Linked DNA regions of Homo sapiens: all the other regions are linked to region 1. Evidence: promoter capture Hi-C in 16 types of primary human blood cells and fetal thymus (Javierre and others, 2016). All regions are on one chromosome and are shown on one strand. The core of a region is centred on a gene start or on the middle of the fragment in contact, and the rest is flanking DNA. Distances in the headings are between cores, read along the strand shown. Region 1 holds the start of ADAMTS9 (ADAM metallopeptidase with thrombospondin type 1 motif 9). Region 2 has its middle 75 kb from the start of LINC02040. Region 3 has its middle 55 kb from the start of LINC02040. Region 4 has its middle 34 kb from the start of LINC02040.

Region 1 (2,930 bases), core at 239-2,738:
CAATTATTTAGCAAATTCGTCTTGCCAAGTCATTTTTACCCTTCACCAGAAGAAATATATGTATTAGTATCTCAAGAATAGTTGACATTGCTAGCATATTGCGATTTGGTTCCTGGTGTTGGCAATCTTTGGTATTTCTAGTCCTGAGTGCTAACCTACCACGCAACAGAACCTCAACCCCCGTTCTAGGATACTTGGGCAAATATATATTTATTAGTCATATATTTATATATTTTTAACGATATTGTCATGTCTTTCCTCTTGAAATTATCTTGAAATTCTATCTTCCTGAGGGCTGGTTAAAGAAAAGGCGCCACTGAACCACCCAAGATTGAACAATTCACACACACACACACACACACACACACACACACACACACGAAGGTGTAGCTTGAAGCGCCTGCTTTCAGTCTTTCCCAGTCTTTCCAAGCATCTCTCAGGCTGAAAGCAAGCGGAAGTGATTGAGAAATCCCTCCAGGGACTGGTGCCTCCCACAGGGATCTACAACTTTACACTCCATCCCCCCTTCCCCTCCCATCTCTAAACCCCCTGGTAGTGAGGGGCGCCAGAGTCCCCGCCCCTTCTTGCTGCCAAAATTTGTTCTTAACCTTTTTTGGGGCAGGGGACCTACAGAATGCTATGGACCCTCCATGAATGGTGACAGAGGTTGGTGGAAAGCACAGCTTAAATATTTTGCGAAATTTTCAAGAGACCACGTATTAGAAACACACTCCGACCTGCAGGATTAAGAACCCCATTTCTAAAACTCTTGACTTGGGGTGATTAAATCGAGAGCGGAGCTCAGGTGCCAAATCTCTTCCCGAATGAAAAAGTGTAGGAAGGGAAGGCGCTCCGGCGCTGGGCCACTTTCACTTGTAAGAAACCAAAAGATGGGGACTGGTGGCAAGAGATGGGGACGGAAGAGAAAGGAAAGGAAAAGGAGAAATGTGAGAAACAGACAGGGACACGGTGGGGCGGGGAGAAGACAGACATCACAGGGGAAAATGGGGAGAAGGGACAGAGTCCGAGAGGCACAGCAGCAGAGAGACAAGGGGGAGGAGGAAAAAGAGACTCGGAAGGGAGGAGAGAGAGGAGAGGAGAGGAAAAAGACGAGAGGGGAAGTGGCTGCACGCGCGCCAGGAAAGGGAGAGAACTTTCCCTGCTTTCCCTCCCCGGGGCAGGGAATCTCAGAAAACCCCACTTCAGCGAGGTGGCGGGGACCAGGAACAGCTGCCCCGGCGCTGGTGACGCCTCTGGCCTCCGCCTCTTGCAGCCGGCAGGGCCTCCGGCTGCGAGTCCCGCACGGGCCGGCCGAGGAGGGGACATGGTCTGGAAGGAGGCGGTCCCCGTTCGTCTCGCTTTCTCCTCCCCTCTCCTCCTCTTAGAGGCGTGCACCGGGGGCATTTGAGAGGCTGTGGACCCGCGGCCCCCCCGCCTCCGCCCCCCCAGCCCCCCATTCAAGAAGCCGCTCAGCTATCCCGGCCAGCACAGGGCGCCCGGCGCGCCTCGGAGCGCAAGTTCCTCGCCTTCTCCTGCCCGCTCGCTGGGCATTATGCGGCCAAGCAGCCGAGCCCCAGTCCTCCTCCTCCTCCTGCTCCTCCGGCTCCTCCTGCGGCCCGAGCGGCTCAGCTCTCGGCAGGCGGCGGCGTTGCTCAGCCGAGCGCAGACGGGACCCTCGCAGCGAGACCTCAGCGACTCCTAAAGTCAAAAGTTGGCGGCGGGCGCCGGGCTCCGCGCGCTCTCCACGGCCGCTGCCTCGCGTCGCCGCCGCAGCCAAGGAGGGCAGGAGGGAGGGGGGTGGGGGCAGCGGAGGGAGGGGTGGGAAGCACCATGCAGTTTGTATCCTGGGCCACACTGCTAACGCTCCTGGTGCGGGACCTGGCCGAGATGGGGAGCCCAGACGCCGCGGCGGCCGTGCGCAAGGACAGGCTGCACCCGAGGCAAGGTAACCAGGCTCCGGCCCCCGGGACCCCGCCGGCCCCGACGCCGCCTCCCGGTCCTCGCTCCTGGGCAGGGGCACCCCGCAGCGGAGGCTTCTCTCCTTTTCCTAGAAAGAATTATCTCCCGCTTTGCAGCCTCTCCCTTCTTTGGGTCATCCCCAACCAATTGCTAGGGAGGGACACTATGGAAACGAATTTAGGCAACCCCCCCCTACCTTGCTGTTGCCAGATATATCCCCATCCCCACTCCCACGCCGCAAACTAAAGTAACTTAGTAATTGGGGGCACCAGATAGCGTCATGTTTTATTTTATTCAGGTTATTTATCAATATCTGAAATCATATATATTTTGACTTGTTAATTGTCTGGCTCGGAATAGTGTATCCTCAGCACCTAGCACAGGTCCTGTTACTGGCACATAGTAGGTGCTCAGCAAATATTTGTCCACTGATTAAGGGTGAAGGGATTGACTCGAATGGGCTGGAAAATAAGGTCAGAACAAAGTCCCCACCTTCGTTTTAAATTAAAGCTTAAGGAAAAATGAATTATTGGTTCATATACCTCTGCTTCTCTCCGCAGTGAAATTATTAGAGACCCTGAGCGAATACGAAATCGTGTCTCCCATCCGAGTGAACGCTCTCGGAGAACCCTTTCCCACGAACGTCCACTTCAAAAGAACGCGACGGAGCATTAACTCTGCCACTGACCCCTGGCCTGCCTTCGCCTCCTCCTCTTCCTCCTCTACCTCCTCCCAGGCGCATTACCGCCTCTCTGCCTTCGGCCAGCAGTTTCTATTTAATCTCACCGCCAATGCCGGATTTATCGCTCCACTGTTCACTGTCACCCTCCTCGGGACGCCCGGGGTGAATCAGACCAAGTTTTATTCCGAAGAGGAAGCGGAACTCAAGCACTGTTTCTACAAAGGCTATGTCAATACCAACTCCGAGCACACGGCCGTCATCAGCCTCTGCTCAGGAATGGTAAGTGGGC
Region 2 (2,930 bases), core at 318-2,817, 560 kb before region 1:
AATGTACCATTTGCTAACCACAAAACACATGCTGATTTTGACTTCTTCCCTTTGTGTTGACAAAAGAAGACATGGAAGTCAAGAAATAGAAGACCGTCTGGGAGAGTGAGATCCTAGAAGTATGGATGGGAACTGGGCTAGGTGAAGTGTGATTTACTTCCTAGGAAGTGATGCAAAGATTTCTCAGTCACAAAGTTTTCCATGATGAAAATGACCCATAGTCATCCAGTGAAAAGGTGACAGTCTGAAAGTCTACCCAGTGAATGTCCCAAAGGCTTTGAATGCTGTGCCCATGGGTGACCAGAGCATATTCCCTGGGAAGTGACACAGAGGTTCAGAGCATTGCCTCTGGGGTGAGACAGTCCTGGGTCTCAAGTTTCGTCCTCTTTCCTAGCTCCTTGATCTGAAGTAGCTGTCTTAACCTCTTTAGACTCAGTTTCCCATTGGCAATATACATTAGGGTCATTGTGCAGCTTGTAAGAGATATTTAACGTAAAAGTGATTGGTAGAGTCCCTAGATGGCAGAAAATGCCTAATAAATTCTAGCTATTCTTTCTCCTGAAATTTTAGTCTGTAACACAGCAGCTATGGTGGCAGAAACTGAGATGCACTTTGTGGATGACAGAAAGGTGAATAAAAGTGCATGCATGGGACTTTGGAAGAAGGTAGTCTCAAATGCCTTTTTAAGAGAGATTATATTGTCACTTCTCTGACAGTGTGGAAGATAAAACTGAGGGTGCAGCACTCTTCTTGGGAGGAAGAGCCCTGCTTTGACCTTGACATCTGTTGGTGCATTTAGCAAAACTTATTTTAAACAACTCCTAAGAATTTTATTCAATGTAAAACTTCTATATGTATCTGGATGGAAATACTGATCTACCCTTGATTCATTTTATCCATCACCTATCTTACCTTATCCCACCTCACACTATATCTTATCTTATCTTATCTTATCTTATCCATCTAGTCTTGTCTTGTCTTTCTGTCTGTCTGTCTGTCTATCTGTTTCATACATCATCCATCCATCTGGTTATGTCCATAGGATGTAAATGATAAAGAACTTTCTGCCCTCAAGTTGCTCCTAAGCTTGGAGGGAGACATTCCAATAGACAAAACAAGAGGACCAAAGTATTCATGGGATGCTTTAATGCAGCACAGAGGGTATCCACTGCAGATTGGCAGTGGACCGAGAAGGCTTCCGAAGGGTTAGTAAGAAGAATCCAGGTAAAATGTATAGACAAGAGGTGGAGAAGGATGCTGGTAAGGACATTGGTAGTAGAATCCCCAGTCAATGCAAAGGCCTGGGGGCAGGCAGGTGAAAGACACCTTAGGAACACACTGAGTAGTTAATCATGGATAAAGCAAGGGCAATGCATCCTAAATGCTACTGAGCATAGAAGGCACCGAGAGAGCTTGTTAAAATGCAGATACACACACAAAATATATTTGAAAAAAATACAGACACCATGACCCACCACAGAGATTCTGAACCAGTGGATCTGGGATGAAGTCCAGAAAACCAGCATTTGACACAAAAGGCCCTAGATAATTCTCAGGCAGGTGGTTATCCTACAGTCCACTAAGAAACAATTGTGTGATGTTACAGAGACAGTTTTATATGTGGTATATCTGAAGCGAAAGCTGTGGTCCCTTGCTACTCAAAGTGTGGTCCTTGAAGGAGTAGACTTCGCATCCCCTGGGAGCTTGTTAGAAAGGTAGAATCCCAGGCCTCACTCCAGAACTTCTGAATCAGAATCTGCATTTTAAGAAGACTGCCAGGTGATTTGATGCACATTAAAGTTTGTAAAGCACTTTATCAGGCAGGGATAGCACCTTAAATTGTTTTATCAATAATAGTGAGATACTTTATATAATAGGTGATGGCAAGTCATTGAAAAGCTGTAGTTGAGGGAGTGGTGTGGTTCAGTTTGCTCTTTAAATTAAATATTTAAAAAAATTTTTTTGAGGAGTCTGTATTCTCCCTGCCTTTTCCCTTTTCTCTGTTCCAAGAAGGAGTCATGCCCTTGATATTTCCTTAACTAAGCTTTTTAAATTTTCATTTTTGTTCTCCGAGATTGAGAGCCAAATTTGCCTAAACAAAATACTGTTTCTGCCTCTCCAAAAAGCCTAAGTTTGTAGAAGAGATGAGACAAAGGGTCGAAGCATGTAGAGCAGAGGGAGGGTGTTCAAGGTCAAGGATTGAAAGTAAGGATGTGTTTGCAGGAACTGGAAGTGCCTAAAGATGGTGAAGCTCTGCCGGAACTGAGGTTAGCAGATCCATCTAAGGTTTTTTCCCTAGACTGGGGAGGAGTGATGCCTACCCAAGGCACCCAGAGATGGGGTCATAAACTCAGGACTCAGGACTAGCCCAAGATTCTCAAGTCACCAGCATGGCACAGCCGCCACGGAACCTCTCCTTGGAAACAGTGTGCCACAGATGCCCTATTGGGTAGACGAAGTGTCACCTCCCACTCTCTTGCTTGGGGTTGGGTAAGACCCTGGGATGTTGGTGCATCCCTGGGAGGGCAGCAACAGCAATAAGCACTGAGAGGTATTTGAGCCCATGGTCAGATGGGCACTGGGAATCAGACAATTTGATTTAAATAGAAAAAACCATTTCTTGCTCATCTGAGATTAGGAACTAGATTCATCTTCCAACATTTAGAAGGTTCACCTTGATGCTTTTGTGAATTTCAAGAAGGGTTAAAAAATTGTAGTGACGTAAACACAGTTGTCTTTGATGGCAGAGTCTGGGCTGTCTTCTCCTGTATTTCCTCTCCCTCTCAGCAATGCAGAAGCATAGAGAAGCAATCAGAGCTCCCTCACTCACTTTGGGATATTCATGGAGGACAATGCACATGTCAGTCCTGCTGTCACGGTCACATCATCCATCTGCCCCCTTTTCTCAGCTGAAAGGCTGAATGCAACAT
Region 3 (2,930 bases), core at 112-2,611, 540 kb before region 1:
ACTTGGGTAACCCCTGGCAAGTTACTTGAAACCTCATCTGTAAAACAGGGATAATAATGGTCCTCACCTTGGAAGGTTGCTTCACCAATTAAATTAGTTAATAGACTAAAAGGACTTTGCATTTTGCCTAGCATGGAGCAAGGGTTCAACAAAAGCTGTGACTCATAACTTCCATGGTTATTATGAAGTAGGCAATAAGGCTAGAGAAGGGGATGGGGTGGTAAGGAGTTGCTAAAGCACTCCTGTCTCTCCCTGCTCATGAATGCCACTGTGCATGTGATTTATCTCCACAGCACGGGAGGCTGGGCTTCGTAGCAAGCGCATACTCAGTTTAGGGAGACAATGACCAACCATGAGAGAGGATGAATGAAGTGTTCTCTTTCTTAGCATCCTGCTTTTATTACTCCTGATGGCGTACAGCCTTTAAACTAAGCCCTTTCTCACCCTGTGTTCATTAATACTGTTTCCTACCTCCTCAAAGCTGCCCATGGAGCTCCCCGGCCCACTGGCTAGAACTGTGTTGCACTGCCATTGCTGATAGCATCTCATGACGCATGCAGGGCAAGTTTAAATGTTGACAGCAGTGACTGGTCGCTAGACACACCCCACAATTGCAGAGCTGATTTCTCTCTCTGCCCCTACAGTAACGTGATAGATTTTGTTCCCAGAGAGCTCTGCAGGCAAGATTTAAGTATGTTTTTCCCTGCTGTGAGCCTGGAATAAAGTCTTCACAGATAGCCAAAGCAGGCTCAGTGAATCACTCTGGCTTTCCGGTGCTCCTCGTTCCTCTGCACGGAGGACACACCCTGATTTAGTAAGTGTCACTCTCACCTTCCATTCATCACCAGCCTTAGACACACTGCCGGGTGGTGAAACTCAGTTGCGGATGTTCCTTTCAGCCCATTACATGAGCAGAGAGACTTTTCACAACGTAGCTTTTCAAATAGGAGATTGCCCTTCTTCAAGAGACAGGATTGCAATGTGCCAGGGTCACTGTGTGGCCTAACAAGCCAGTGATTCCTGGGTCCAATTCTGAAGCATCAGCTCTGGAAAAACTCCGTGTTAAAGCTTATGGCTTTTGACAGGATATAGAATTTTGTTTACAGAAGTTAAATATACTGGCTTAGGAGTGATCTGGTACAGGTTCGACTCTATGAATTACAGTCTTTGTAGCTTTGGACAAGTTGTTTAACCTCTCTGATCCTCAGTTTGTTCATCTGTAGAACAGCACTTAATTTAGGGGGTTGTTACGTGGTACAATGTACTTAGCTCAGTGCCTGGCACCTAGTGCTCGGTAAAAGTTAGTGGTTTTTAACGCTGTGGTTATTCCTGCTGTGTTAGTGTTATCATTGATGTTATTTGCAACCAGGCTAATGGTTAGCCCAATCCTGTCTTTTCTCTTAGCCTTCCTTTGTGGAGGAACTGAAGGGACAGTGTTTTAGAAAGTGTCATTTTGCTCCCTCTGGGCTGACTGTAAGTGAAAAAGTTAGGATGCTATGGTTTGAATTTGTCCCTTCCAAAATCCAGGTGTTGTCAATGTGATAGTTCTAAGAGGTGGGGCCTTTAAGGGGTGATTAGGTCATGAGGGCTGCTTCCTCGAGAATTTGATTAAGGCCCTTCTAAAAGAGACTTCATGCAGCGTTCAGCAAGCTTGCCCTTCTGCCATGTGAGGACAAAGCCGGAAGGCCCTCTCTAGATCAAATGCTGGCACCTTGATTTGGACTTCCATGCCTCCAGAACAGTAAGAAAACAATTTTCATTTCTTATAAATTACCCAATCTTAGATATTTTGTTGTAGAAGCACAAAACAGACTAAAACATGAAGCGACACATTATGATGTTAAGAAAAGAGACAGCACTGGACTTAGAGTCCCAAAATGTGATGTTAAGTTCATGCTTCTCCACAAACTACTTACTGGAGTTAGGTCAAGTCCCTTAAGCCCTTTTGAGCTTTCCTTTCCTCTCCTCTCACGCCTCCTTCAAATGGTTGCTGTGAGGATTAACAATGATTTCTCACTCTTACTAGTGCAATATCTACGATCTATTGAGTGCAGAGTATAGCTCAGACACTGTGAGCTATACAGCTATACATACAGACATCAACCTAATCATCTCAACAACCCCGTGACCCCAAAGCCCTTATATTTAACCTTCACTGTCTCATAAAATGAGATCATGTGTTTGAAGATAAAAATTCTCAAAATCTTTTTGGTGTCCTGCAATATTAAATCCAGATTCCTTTATGTGCCATTTAGGGGCCATTCAGGTCTCACCCAGACCACAGTTCCATCCAGGTCCTGTCTATAGCTGGGATCTGTGCTTCCTCTACTGCAGCCATAATTCACTTGCCATTTCCCAGAATTTGTATTTCTCAAAAAGACTTCTGAACCTTTGCATATCTGTTCCCTTTGCTGTAATGTCCTTCTGTCTGCTTGCTTACCTGGGAAAATTCTACTACTGTTCTTAGGCTCAGAATAGGTGACCTTTACTATGATTTGTGACTCTGACCTCTCAGGTATTACCTTGTCCTTTGTGTTTTCAGTGCACCCTGCATATGATTTTCACACAGCACATATCACACCCTGCGATGATTATCTATGAGAATCTGTGGTCATTTCTATTCAAAATGCTAAACAGGAATCAAATTGCCAGTACCAAATACAGTACCTGGCACACAGTGCGTGTTTGATACATGCTTATGGAATGAATGAATGGAATGTTCCCAGTTGCCTGGTGAGGTTTGCTCCCTGCTACACTTCTTTGACCTTCTCCAACCTCACCTGTGATGGGGAGATTTTTTTGGCTCGGTAATGTGTTTAACACTATAACATATGCTAGGACTGGAGACCCATATTATTATTATTTTTTAAATTTTACTTTAAGTTCTGGGATATATATATGGAATGTGCAAGTTTGTTACATATGTATAC
Region 4 (2,930 bases), core at 139-2,638, 520 kb before region 1:
TAGGTCATATCTACTGTCTCAGTTATTTTGCAGTGACCCTGTAATCTAAACCAGCTTCCTTGCTCTGTATTTAATTTGGAAAAATCATTAAAACAAAACAGAACAAGAGCCCAATTAGGAAAGACCTGCTGCATAACAGATAATTATTGCTTTTCCAGAAAATGAGTATCTTTGGCTATACCTGGATTGGGAGAGGCAGTGCCAAACACCCTGGGTCTGGTACTGTGCTGGACATCATCAACAATTTCTCACTAATGTCTCATGAAAACAATGCTGTGAGTCAGATGTTATTATCTTCTGTTTATAGAAGCAGAATCTGGAGCCCTGAGAATTTAAGTAACTGAAATGTGGGTCCTTGTGTCCCAGATCTCGTGACAGTTGTAAGGGTCAAAACGGTAAATTTTAGATTGTGAAAGCACTTTTTAGCCCTTCTGGTTTAGCTAGGACCATTTTTCTTAATCAACATCCCATCTTTCTGCTTGCACCCAGTTTATGTTCTGTAGTTAACTCTTTTGTGTGTAGACTGATACCCTAATGTAAGTACATTCTATTGATTCAATGGTTTGCAAATTTTAGCAAAATAATGATTGCTTTCTAGTCTTCTCACTGATGCAAAGGAATGCATGGTGCCACATTTTTCTTCTCAGTAGTTAAAGCTTTAACTAGGATTTGTTTGTGTGTAAAGTTGTCTTGCAGCTCATGATACACTGAATGCTTTCATGGGAGCATTATAATAGAAGCTAATTAGATACCTGGTTGCTGGGTTAAAAAAATGCCAGTCTGGCTGCCAGGAGATCTTTGTTGCATTTCTATTTGTACCATGAACCATTGCATGACCTAGAGCAAGTCATTTCTCCATCTGGAAAAAGAGAGGGTTGTATTTGATACTACTAAGTTTCCATTGCCTCAGTACTAAGACTCTGTTGTGGCCTCATCAGATCCCTAGGGGTTGGGAGAAGAGCAACTTGACAGACCTGGAAGCTTGTTACTTGTCCCACCATCTCTGCAGCCACAGGACACACAAGCCAATTGCCTAGACACTTGCCTGTCTAACTTCTTCTTTCCCACCCAACTTGTCCATTTCCATTTGAAGCCTCATATATTGTTACTCTCTGAGTCCTTTGGTTTCTGAATTCATAAAGTCACTTTTTTGGCACCACTTTTCCCCCGAAACATTAATACAGTGGTCACACTTGCTGCCTTGTGTTGAGCCCCACTATATCCCTGTTATGTTCTGAATGCCTACTATATGCACTGCTAAAACCATTTTGCGTGGACAGTCTCATTTAACCCCCACAACATGCCCTTAAGGAGGGGTACCATTATAATCCCCATTGTAGAAATGAAGAAAATGAAGGCTGGAGAAGGTAAGAGGCAGAACTAACATTGGAACTTAGGATCTAACACCAGCACCTGTGCTGTTAGCCTTCAGGGCACCCCGCCCCCCCTGATAAGTGAAAGACCGGAAAGCGTCAGCACCGCTCACCTGGAGTGGGAGTTTTGAGGGTGAGGCTCTTCTTCCCAAACTGTGTGTCTACTTTGCTATGGGGGAGGAATTAAGTGAATATTAGAAAATCACAACAATGTCCAGTCTAAAGGTTTTGGGTAAAATTGCTAAAAATAATTTGTGTCCATACAGGAAGTTATCAGTAGTTCGTAACTAAGAGCTATTTAGGAAGGCAGGGGGCCAGAGCATAGAAAAGGTGACTTTGGTGTTTCCAAAGGCAGGTAGGAAAGATAGGACCTTCCCACTGAGTTGGAGGATCTGAGAATTAAGATCGACAGTTCAAGCTTTTGGCTATCATATCTCCTGTCACAATTACACCCAGCTGAATTATATATCCAAGCAAGTCCCTTCAAAATGGCTTCAAGGACTATTCCATCTTGGGAGTTCCCGGCGTTGTGGACCTCTGGCGTCATCCCTTTGGCCACAAGACCTGAGAGCTGCTCCAGCGAGCTCAGACCACCCCCCAGCCCGCCACCCAACATGAGATGCTTCTCATGGAAAATACTGAGTGAGGTAACAGAGGGGAGACACTTGTCCCTTCTTACCTTGCTTCCATTCTTTCAGTTGAAGGGATTTTAGGAAGAGGGAGGAGCATTACTCACAGAAAACTCCAAGCGTTAGACTTTGTGCTCAGGTTGTTCATAATTAGCTTGGGAATTAACATTAAGGAAGATTTATTACAATTTTGAAGATCAGGACCACTGATGTGCAATTGAAAAAGCATGAATTTTTCTATTGTTATTTTGGTGATGGAAAGAAGTTTTGTAGCAGAGCTCTCTGCTGACATATAATATTTCTCTGTACATCACATATCCTGGCTTAATATCTAGATGGCAGGTTATGTGTTGTGTTTGAGTGAACTTGGCACATACACAACTTGAATCAAGCTGAGCAAATTCTCATGTTGCCAAAACCAATCCCCTATTGGTGATTTACTCTCCACTTCTGCGTTGGTCCTCCACCTGGGAAACATGCACGTGAAGGAGATCTTCAGGCTACTTGCCAGTGCCTATTGTTCTCCAGGGACAATCTGACATTGTCTTTTATATGGAAAGGAAAATAGAGGTACTTATTTGAGAGTAAATAGCAAACATGCAAAATCTAGATTGTACCCCTCTATGTAGTGGAAAAAAGGCCCTAAAACATAATAAATAATAGTTCCTTCTATAGATACTTCTCAAAAAAAAGTGAAACTATTTTTTAGAATAAAGCACCTTGGGGTATAAACCTTTTAAGATTCTAATTTCAATAATATCTATGCAAATGATTTTATTTTTATTCCTTGTGCCAAATACAAATAATGATAGTCCGTTCCTAAAGCTTAACAAAGAGCTGTTCTAATGGTGTTGTTTTGGTTTTATGGATTCATTTAGCTAGAGGCACATGTTTACAATAGCCAAACAGGATTTTATGGAGTAATTAG

What was found. The method cuts DNA at HindIII sites, captures the fragments that hold promoters and counts their contacts. A CHiCAGO score of 5 or more calls a contact.
Region 2: a contact is called between a fragment that was not itself captured here and the fragment with the promoter of ADAMTS9 in region 1, in 1 of 17 cell types (endothelial precursors). The highest score is 13.4, in endothelial precursors.
Region 3: a fragment that was not itself captured here is called in contact with the fragment with the promoter of ADAMTS9 in region 1 in 1 of 17 cell types (endothelial precursors); the score reaches 7.3 in endothelial precursors.
Region 4: a fragment that was not itself captured here is called in contact with the fragment with the promoter of ADAMTS9 in region 1 in 1 of 17 cell types (endothelial precursors); the score reaches 6.9 in endothelial precursors.

The regions. Positions count from the first base shown.
Region 1 is chr3:64,686,558-64,689,487 of GRCh38, reverse strand. It overlaps ADAMTS9 (ADAM metallopeptidase with thrombospondin type 1 motif 9), which reads left to right and starts at 1,488. Exons shown (of 40, transcript NM_182920.2): 1 at 1,488-1,945; 2 at 2,520-2,920. The coding sequence starts at 1,831. All of the region lies in intron 1 of ADAMTS9-AS2 (ADAMTS9 antisense RNA 2), which reads right to left. The HindIII fragment of the contact is 3,589 bases long and covers 1-2,471 here.
Region 2 is chr3:65,248,205-65,251,134 of GRCh38, reverse strand. No RefSeq gene overlaps it. Among named protein-coding and RNA genes, the nearest start is that of LINC02040, 75 kb to the right of the region's middle. The HindIII fragment of the contact is 958 bases long and covers 1,089-2,046 here.
Region 3 is chr3:65,228,289-65,231,218 of GRCh38, reverse strand. No RefSeq gene overlaps it. Among named protein-coding and RNA genes, the nearest start is that of LINC02040, 55 kb to the right of the region's middle. The HindIII fragment of the contact is 582 bases long and covers 1,071-1,652 here.
Region 4 is chr3:65,207,453-65,210,382 of GRCh38, reverse strand. No RefSeq gene overlaps it. Among named protein-coding and RNA genes, the nearest start is that of LINC02040, 34 kb to the right of the region's middle. The HindIII fragment of the contact is 810 bases long and covers 984-1,793 here.